Linked DNA regions of Homo sapiens: region 1 is linked to region 2. Evidence: promoter capture Hi-C in human tissues and cell types (Jung and others, 2019). All regions are on one chromosome and are shown on one strand. Each heading gives the region's core, a stretch centred on a gene start or on the middle of the fragment in contact. The rest is flanking DNA. Distances are from core to core; before and after follow the strand shown. Region 1 overlaps AFG1L (AFG1 like ATPase). Region 2 holds the start of SNX3 (sorting nexin 3).

What was found. Contacts are between HindIII fragments. The study calls those that stand out against the background at their distance.
Region 1: a fragment that was not itself captured here is called in contact with the fragment with the promoter of SNX3 in region 2 in 1 of the 25 tissues and cell types used here (H1 embryonic stem cells).

What each region holds. Positions count from the first base shown.
Region 1 is chr6:108,444,160-108,449,050 of GRCh38, reverse strand. AFG1L (AFG1 like ATPase) reads right to left here. Exons shown (of 13, transcript NM_145315.5): 8 at 1,755-1,837. Among named protein-coding and RNA genes, the nearest start is that of FOXO3, 110 kb to the left of the region's middle. The HindIII fragment of the contact is 5,786 bases long and covers 1-4,891 here.
Region 2 is chr6:108,258,777-108,264,002 of GRCh38, reverse strand. SNX3 (sorting nexin 3) reads left to right here and starts at 2,963. Exons shown (of 4, transcript NM_003795.6): 1 at 2,963-3,243. The coding sequence starts at 3,082. RefSeq lists an enhancer at 1,943-2,778 and silencers at 2,906-3,165, 3,276-3,385. The HindIII fragment of the contact is 13,682 bases long and covers 1-5,226 here.

The sequences.
Region 1 (4,891 bases), core at 1,168-3,667, 190 kb before region 2:
TCAGCCTCCCAAGTAGCTGGGACTACAGGCAGGTGCCACCACACCCACTATTTTTTAAATTTTTTGTAGAGACAGGGTCTCCCTATGTTGCCCAGCTGGTTTCAAACTCCTGGGCTCAAGTGATCCTCCAACCTCAGCCTCCCAAAGTGCCTGGATTATAGGCATGAGCCATTGTGCCTGGCCTTTGAATTTATATACTTCTCAGGAAAGCTGGTCCAGAGTTTCCTGGTGTCCTTTGTAGGTCTGGTTTCCTGGACTCTGGACATTGTTAGTGTTGGTTTTCCTCTAGCATATTTTTAAAGATCAAAACTGAACTTCACTGGGTTAGAATGCTATTACTTTTATCAGGAAAAGGAAGGGGTAACACAGGGTAAGTCAGAGACAAAAAATGGCTACGCTCCAAGCAAAAGTAGCCTTTTCACCTCCAGTAACTTCCAAGACCTCTTTGGCACTATGAAACAAATTTTATAATTTAGACTCAGACTACCATCTTTATTTAAGGAACTCCCCATCAGGAAAATATTTTTATTTTTCCACATGAGGATACACTTTTTGAAAAAAAACAGAGAACAAGAATTACCTCCTTTAAAAAAAGAATAAAGAGAATAATAATTAATTAATGCATTGGTACCATACATCTGGAATATCAAGACACAGGTAGCAAAAAATCAGGGAAAGGCTGTGAATATTAGAAAAATAAAATATCCAGTAAACACAAACATAAAAGAAACTGGGAAGAAAAAGTCCAAGTTAAAGCAGAAAAATGTGCTCTATGAATTTTTTAAAATTATAAAGTACTTTAAAGACAAAGTACTTGAGGACAAATGAAGAATCTCCTATAATAATCATCAGGATCTGAATAATAAACTAAAATAGTCCCCTTGGTACACTGTAAAGTATGCAATTTTAATTATGTGATTTTTCTAGCTAATTTCTGCTTCAAAAACAGTAAAGTACTTCTGCTTACAAGGTGGCAGAGACAAGAACTTTTCTCAACCTCTCAAATGCACGTTGTCATCAAAATTTAAATTACCAGAAACATGCCTTTTAGTTAAATTACAATTAGTCCTTAGACAGATCTATTTACTGAGAATTTGCTATGTGCCCAACACTGTTGGCATATACTAAACAAGTTTGCTTTTTTAAAGCACTTTTTCCTTTTCACGTTCTCACAAAGGACATTTTAAAACAAACTATATTTGTTTTTCAGTATTAACTGCACGTGCTGAATACACCTATTATTATAAATCGCTCCTACTCAGGAGCATCTTAGCTTTTAAAAGACAAAAATATATCCAGTTGTATTTGTGTATATATATTGTAGATCAGTTATATATGGAAGTCAATCAACAATGATAAATACAAACAGATTGACAAATAAAACAACAATTTTGGGGGGAACGGAAATGGCACACTTGTCAGATGATATCCACAAATAATTAATTACTTCACACATTAAAGATATTCTCGTAATAATAGAGTCTCTTATAAAAGGATACTCATTACATTCTAACCATCTGTCATCATTCCACCCCAAAAAACTAATTAGGGTTTTGTCCAATCACACATTATAAATGATGCAAATATGGATGGTAAAGACACGGGTTGAAGAAGTTAACATGAGAACATTTGCAATTTAAAAATCATGGGCTTCAGAACCAGCCTTTCACGTTCCAATAATTAAACTGCTTATTTTTATGTTCTTTTTCTGATTAACGATTAGACATTAAACTTTAAAAATTAGAAACACTTACAGGTAGTAGAGTTTTCCTGCAGCAGGAAGTTCCCTTTTCCGGTAATCTATCCCAGAATCTAGCTGGACTGTATTACAATATTCCTACAATCCAAACAAATGAAGTGCCTTTTTAAACAAGTAGTGGCTCAGAATTACAATCCTTCCCTTATACTATACATTTTTAAAATTTTTCAAATGTTTGCTCAAAAACTAATATAATGAGATGACAAGAAAACAACAGAACTCATGCAAGATTCATAAAACTAAAGTTGCAATATTAAATATATCAAGCCACTGAAATATCAGTTTAAAAAAATTAAAATTTGCATCATGTTTTCTGAAACATTGCCTAAAAAGTGCTGTCAGCAAATTCCCCAAATAACTTCATCTGGGTTTTTTTTAAAATAGCCCAATTTCTAATACCCTGGAGTGAGAAACTAGAGGCTACCAGAAAGAATAACTCATGGGTCTTAAGCACCACAGGAGGGCAGAGGCAGCATAAGAGAGCTGGGAGTGGACAATGGTGGTTCACGCCTGTAATTCCAGCACTTTGGGAGGCTGAGACAGGCAGATTGTGTTTGTCCAGGAGTTTGAGACCAGCCTGAGCAACATAGCAAAACCCATCTCTACAAAAAATACAAAAATTAGCTGGGCGTGGTGGCACACGCCTGTAGTCTCAGCTATTTGGCCGGCTAAGCTGCGAGCATTGCTTGAGCCTGGGAGGTGGAGGTTGCAATGAGCTATGATCGTGCCACTGCACTTCAGCCTGGGCAACAGAGCAAGACCTTGTCTCACACACACACAAAAAAAAAAAAAAAAAAAAAGAGAGAGAGAGAGTTGGGCCAGAACATTAGTGTCCACATTTTAAACCAAATGACCAAACTAGAATGATGTCGTAGGTATGCCCATCCTTCGCTTCTAAATGGCTGCCACTGCCCATGTCTCCCTTTTAGTTTCCTCTCTGGCCACCAACATTTCAGTGCGCTTTCCTGCTGTGGATGCCTCCTTTCAACCCGAGTCACCCTGTGCCACTAATGCCCTTCTCTTCTCCCAAGTGCTCCTTTCTTTCCATTCCCCCAGGGTGCATATGTGCACACAAGCACATACACCACACACATCCCAAATTCTTACTTTGAGAGCAAATGTACTTTTGCAACACCTATCTTCTTGGTCAGTTGGATTTTGGGGGCAATGAGAGGAATATATGTAGGGGTGTGTGTGTGTGTGTGTGTGTGTGTGTGTGTGTGTGTGTGTGTGTGTGTGTATCTCTACATAGATGAGAGGCATACTTCATTTTATTGTGTTTCCCTTTATTGTGCTTCTCAAATATTGCAATTTTTACAAAGTGAAAGTTTGTGGCAACCCTGCATGAAGCAAGTCTATTGGCCTCAATTTTCCAACAGCATGTGCTCACTTTGTGTCTCTGTATCACATTTTGGTAATTCTTGTAGTATTTCAAACTTTTAAAAATTATGTCATTAATTATATGATCGGTGATCACATATTATGTGATCAGTGATCTTTGATGCTATTACTGTAATTGTTTTAGGGTACCACAAACTGCACCCATAGAAGAGGGTGAACTTAATTTATACATGCTGTTTGCATTCTGACTGCTATACCAACTGGCTGTTTCTCTCTCTCTCTCTCTCTCTCTCTCTCTCTCTCTCTCTCTCTCTCTCACCTTAGGTGTCCCTATGCTCTGAGAAACAAGAATATTGAAATTATGTCGATTAATAGCCCTACAATGACCTCTAAGTGTTCAGGTGAAAGGAAGAGTCACACATCTCTCACTCTCAACCAAAAGCTAGAAATGATTAAGCTTAGTGAGGAAGGTATGACAAAAGCCACAACAGACAAAAACCTAGGCCTCTTGCAACAAAAAGTTAGCTAAGTTATGATTGAAAAGGAAAAGTTCTTGAAGGAAATGAAAAGTGCTACTCCAGTGAACACATGAACCACAAGAAAGCAAAACAGCCTTATTATTGATATGGAGAAAAGTTTGAGTGATCTGGATAGAAGATCAAAACAGCCACAACATTCTCTTAAGCCAAAGCCTAATCCAGAGAAAGGCCCTAACTCCCTTCAATTCTATGAAGGTTGAGAGAGGTGAGGAAGCTGCAGAAGAAAAGATGGAAGCTAGCAGAGGTTGGTTCATGAGGTTTCAATAAATAAGCCATCTCTATAACATAAAAATGCAAGGTAAAGCAGCAAGTGCTGATGCAGAAGGTGCAACAAGTTATCCAGAAGACTTAGTTAAGATCATTGATGAAGGTGACTACACTAAACAACAGATTTTCACTGGAGATGAAACAGCCTTCTGCTGGAAGAAGATGCCAACTAGGACTTTCATAGCTAGAAAGGAGAAGTCAATGCATGGCTTCAAAGCTTCAAAGGACAGGCTGACTCTCTTGTTAGAGGCTAATGCAACTGATGACTTGATGTTGAAGCAAATGTTCATTTACCAATCTGAAAATCCCAAGGCCCTTAAGAATTTTGCTACATCTACTCTGCCTGTGCTTTATAAATGAAATAACAAAGCCCTTGGATGGCAGCACATCTGTTTACAGTATGGTTTACTAAATATTTTAAGCCTACTGTTCAGAGCTACTGCTTAGAAGAAAGATTGTTTTCAAAAGATTACTGCTCATGACAATCCACTTGGTCATCAAAGAGCTCTGATGGAAGTGCACAAGGAGATAAATGTTGTTTCCCTGCCTGTTAACATAACATCCATTCTGCAGCCCATGCATGAATCAAGAAGTAATTTCAACTTGTAAGTATTATTATTTAAGAAATACATTTTGTAAGGCTATATCTGCCATAAATACCTTTTGTGAAAGGAAGAGTCAATCTATATAGCAACCTTCAACATTATCTTAAGAAACTGCCACAGCCACTCCAACCTTTAGCAGTCACCATCCTGATTAGTCAGCAGCCATCAACATCGAGGCAAGACCAGCAAAAAGATGACCACTCACTGAAAGTTCAGATGATTATTGGCATTTTTAGCAATAAAGTATTTTTTTAATTAAGGTTTTCTTTAGACATAATACCATTGCACACTTAATAGACTATAGTATAGTATAAATATAACCTTTATATGCACTGAGAAACCAAAAGCTTCCTGCAACTCATTTTATTGCAATACTGTTG
Region 2 (5,226 bases), core at 1,714-4,213:
TTCTAACTAGATATTGCATAGACAAAGGAAAGCTATTACATTCTTTATTTCTGTCTTGCCACTACATTCTCTTGTTAATTCTAGTAGCTTATTATTTCTGGATTTGTATTCTAGAAATGCAATCACAATTCCTGAAAAATAAGGATAATTTTTTTTCCTGATATTTACACCAAGAAGGTCTTCTTTGGCTATACAACTGTGCTATGATGCTGTGCTGCTGTCCCTCCTAGCCGCTTCCCCACTGCAGGCATTTGTTCTGGCTGCCCACTGCTGCCCTGAGTGGTCGCCAAGGAATCAGACAGAAGCATTCTATGAGAATATTCCATGATTGCTTTGTTCAGGTGTCACCGATGACAACATAATACAGTAGTTCCTGGTCTCTTAGCTTGCATAGACTTCAATTCAGAGTCATTGATATGTATTTATTGAGCTTACATTTCTAATCATACCAGTCAAATTCCCATTTGGTCTGTTGCATTAGGAGACATGCCCAGCATTAATATCTAATGAGCTTGTCTGTCACTATCTGTCACATTATTCAGTTTTATTTGCCTCATAGCACCAATTATATTGGCAGGTGTATTATTTACTGAATTGTCTCCCTAAGACAGACTATATACTAGGCTATAAACCTGACTTATCTACCCTTTCATTTCTAGTACTTAGAATGAAAACATCTAGTAGGTCTTCAACAAATATTTGTTGAATTAATAAATGAATGTTGTTTTCTGGAAAATAATATACATTGTATTTAAGTAATGCCTTTTTTTTTTTTTTTTTTTTTGAGATGGAGTTTTGCTCTTGTTGCCCAGGCTGGAGTGCAATGGCACGATCTCGGCTCACCACAATCTCCGCCTCCCAGGTTCAAGCAATTCTCCTGCCTCAGCCTCCCGAGTAGCTGGGATTACAGGCATGCGCCATCACGCTCGGCTAATTTTGTATTTTTAGTACAGACGGGGTTTCTCCATGTTGGTCAGGCTGGTCTCAAACTCCCAACCTGAGGTGATCCGCCCGCCTCGGCCTCCCAGAGTACTGGGATTACAGGCGCAAGCCACCGCACCCGGCCAAGTAATTTCTTTTTATTCCAGTGTTTCTTAGTGTTATTAAGAATGGTTGCTGTTGGCCGGGCACGGTGGCTCACTTCTGTACTCCCAGCACTTTGGGAGGCTGAGGCGAGCGGATCAGCTGAGGTTAGGAGTTCGAGACCAGCCCGGCCAATAAGGCAAAACCCCGTTTCTACTGAAAATACACAAAAATTAGCTGGGTGTCATGGCGCACGCCTGTAATCCCAGCTACTCGGGAGGCTGAGGCAGGAGAATCGCTTGAATCCGAAAGGTGGAGATTGCAGTAAGACAAGATGCGCCACTGCACTCCAGCCTGAACGACACAGCGAGACTCCGTCTCAAAAAAAAAAAAAAAAAAAAAAAAAAAAAAAAAGCAAGAAAGAAAAGAAATTTGCAGTTCAAGGGACAGATCAGTCCAAGCACGGTGGTTCATACCTGTCATCTCAGCACATATGGGAGGCCACGGCGGGAGGATCACTTTGATGCTGGGAGTTGGAGACCAGCCTGGGAATCACAGTGAGATCCCGTCTCCACAAATAATTACTAATAATTTAAAATCTAAAGAAAAGGGGGGCGGGGAAGATCAGGTTATTTAAAGTAATTATAGTGTTAAACTTGACATATTAAAAAATGCAGAAATAGTTGTGAGGGATAACTCTCTGGGCAGAGATAGAAATGTATCGTATCTCAACATTTAAAATCTGCATTTCCCATTGGACCATAAGAGATGAACTAGGACCTAATTAATTGGGTTTTCTCCCCGTTTCTTTCTTTCTTTTTTTTGAGACAAAGTCTCACTCTATTACCCAGGCTGGAGTGCAATGGCAGATCTCAGCTCACTGCAACCTCTGCCTCCCGGGTTCAAGCGATTCTCCTGCCTCAGCCTCCAGAGTAGCTGGGATTACAGGCGCGCACCACCACGCCCAGCTAATTTTGCATTTTTAAGTAGAGATGGGGTTTCACCATGTGGGCAAGGCTAGTATCGAACTCCTGACCTCGTGATCCGCCCGCCTCGGCCTCCCAAAGTGCTGGGATTACAGGCATAAGCCACCGTGCCCGGCCTTCCTCCCCGTTTCTTAAAAAGGCTCATGTGAGTTGCATTTCCAGTCCTGTAGAGGTACGTTTAATACTTTTCAAAAAAAAAAAAAACTTATCAGGACTTCGTGAGAAACGAAAGTGGACACCCAAAGCAGCTTGCAGCCGGTCTACTGTTACTTTGTTTTAGCGGACCGACCTGTCTCCAAAATCGATTTGACCATAATGCTAGGATTTAACTAGGGCTTTAGTTTTTATTTCACTCCCCCACTTTACTGGTTTCAACCTATCAATCCAGACGCGTGTCTGGTGCAACGCTCGGGTTTATGGCAAAATCATCTCAGGCATTTGCTTAACCTTCTCCAGAAAGGCATTTTCAGGGGTTCACAGTGAGACGGTGCACAGGTTGGCACAGAGTTAGTAGGGGCAGTTTTGTTTCGATTTGCGGGCAAATCTCTAAGATCTCTCCGTTTAACTTTCGCCCGCAATTCCCAAAGCCGCTAAAGCCGTTTCCGGCGCTCTACCCCGCCGCAGGCCGAGGCTGGCGCAGAGAGACAGGAAGCGCCAGCTCTGGGCGTCTGGGTCCTCGCCTCCTCGGCCGCAGCCCCGCGGCGGCGCGCTCGCGGTGCATTGTGGGCGCTGTAGTCCGGCCGGAACCTGTTTGCGACCCCGAGTCCCATGACACCGCTTCTCCTCACACCCCAGTCCGCAGTGCCCCTCCCCAGCCTCGGCCGGGCCTCCCGGGAGCCGGGCGTGGCGTTCCAGCTAGTGAGCCGTTTCTCCCCTGGGCTCGGAGGCGGAAGCTTGAGGGGCGCGGGGAGGAGCTTCGCGTGCGGGGTGAACGCCCGCTCTACGTGCTCGTTCTCTTCGCGACCGCTGCGCGCGAGCCCCGTGTCCCCACGGCGGGCAGCAGCGGCGGCGGCGGCGGCTGAACGCGGAGGGGGCGGAGGGAGCCCGCGGCGGCGGCAGCAGCTACAGCGAAATGGCGGAGACCGTGGCTGACACCCGGCGGCTGATCACCAAGCCGCAGAACCTGAATGACGCCTACGGACCCCCCAGCAACTTCCTCGAGATCGATGTGAGCAACCCGCAAACGGTGGGGGTCGGCCGGGGCCGCTTCACCACTTACGAAATCAGGGTCAAGGTGAGGCCGTCTCTCCCCTCTCCCAAGAAACCCCTCCCGCTGGCTCTGGTCACCCCCACTCGACCCGGGAGTGGACCCCCGCGGGCAGCCACAGCCTCCCAGGCCGGGAGCCCCCTTGCAGAGGCGGGCCGGGGTCGTGAGCCAGGGCCCCTCTTCCTGTAGGGCTGGTGTGGGGGGCTGCAGAGCGAGCCCGGCGCGCTGGCACTTGGAGAAGGTGCTCGAAGAGGAGGGCGTGGGTTGAGCGCCGCTTGCCCCTCCAGCAGCTGATCAGGGAATGACATTTGAGTTGGAAAGGGGTAGATCTTTCGAGAACACATCCCTTCGCTGGGAAGGGAAAGAGATGTTGACAGAGAAAAGGGGCTTGCGCAAAGTTAAAGCCTTTTCCCAGTTTTCTCTTCCTGGAGACTTCCCAGAGGTAGCAAGCCAACCCGGCTGCTCCAGGCCCTTCCCGAGCTGCTAAAGTAACCTGGGTTGTGCAGTCTTCTGAACGGGACTTAATGAAAGTTCACAGAAGCCTGACAATTTTTGATAGGGCTGAGCCAGACCAGAAGGGTGATTGGACATGGTTGACTTCAGCATTTTGGGCCACCGCCCTGCCAAAGGCTGAGGTGTGGTGTCACCTACCTCATAATCCAGAACTACAGTTGCTTTAAGAAAAGACTAGGGATCTTGCTCTCTTAATTCGAGATTTGCACTTAATTGAATAAAGAAATCAACAGAAATAAAATATACCTAATTTCATAACTAGTATTTGTTGGCAATAATTTAGATGATTTGAAAGATGTTAATTGAAAATAGTGCTTCACTTTCACTCTATAATTCAGGATTAAAGAATTTGCCCATGTATGGAAGCATCTTTAAAAATTAATTACATTAATTTAAAGATGACAGCAAATTATTAAAAGTTAAGTGTAAAGCGATTTTTCCTTTAATCAAAATTTATATGACAAGCTACTATTAACATTTAAGTGAAAAAATTCTCATTAACTTACACACTTTGTGTCGTGAAAAACACAAAAATCAAATTTACCATCCTAACCATTTTTAAGTGTACATACAGCTCAGTAGTATATTCACATTGTTGTGAAACTTAAGTATTTTTAAAAAATGATTCTTACGTAGTTAGCATTGATTTTAAAAAGTTAATCAAACTTTAAGATATGAAACGAATAGTTTAATGTTTCAAGCCACTGTTGTCTTCTTATGGATGTGTAAAATGTGGATCATAGGCCGGGCGCGGTGGCTCATGCCTGTAATCCCAGCACTTTGGGAGGCCGAGCTGGGCGGATCACCGAGGTCAGGAGTTCGACACCAGCCTGACCAGCATGGAGAAACCCCATCTCTACTAGAAATACAAAATTAGCCGGGTGTGGTGGCGCATGCCTGTAATCCCAGCTACTCGGGAGGCTGAGGCCGGAGAATCTCTTGAACTGGGGAGGCAGAGGTTGCCGTGAGCCTAGATCGGGCCATTGCACTCCAGCCTGGGCAACAAGAGCAAAATCCCTTCTCTAAATAAATAAATAAAAATTGAATCATAGGATATGTTGTCATAGGGAAACTGCAAAATCCAGACTTCAGTACACCTGGGGAACTACATTCATACATAAACCTAGTGGAAAAGTGAATGTTTTTCTAATTGTCTGTAATACATGACAGATGGTTCACTAAAAAGAACTTCCTCTTTTGCCCTATTCACTAGTATTTTCTTTTTTTTTCTTTCTTGTGCTAAAACAGAACTTGGTATTCTTGTTTCTATACTTCCATAGCAGGTACTTCCTGTCACAAAACTGAATTGGAATCTCCTGCCTACACTTCCTCCACTTACTTTGAGTTTATCTTGCTGAATGCATTATATTAAATGGGTTCTAGTATAATAATTTAATCCTCTTTTTTTTTTAATACACCTAATACCTTAGCAAATAGCTGATGTGACACTTAAAAATGGTTTCTGGGCCTGGCGCAGTGGCTCATGCCTCTAGTCCC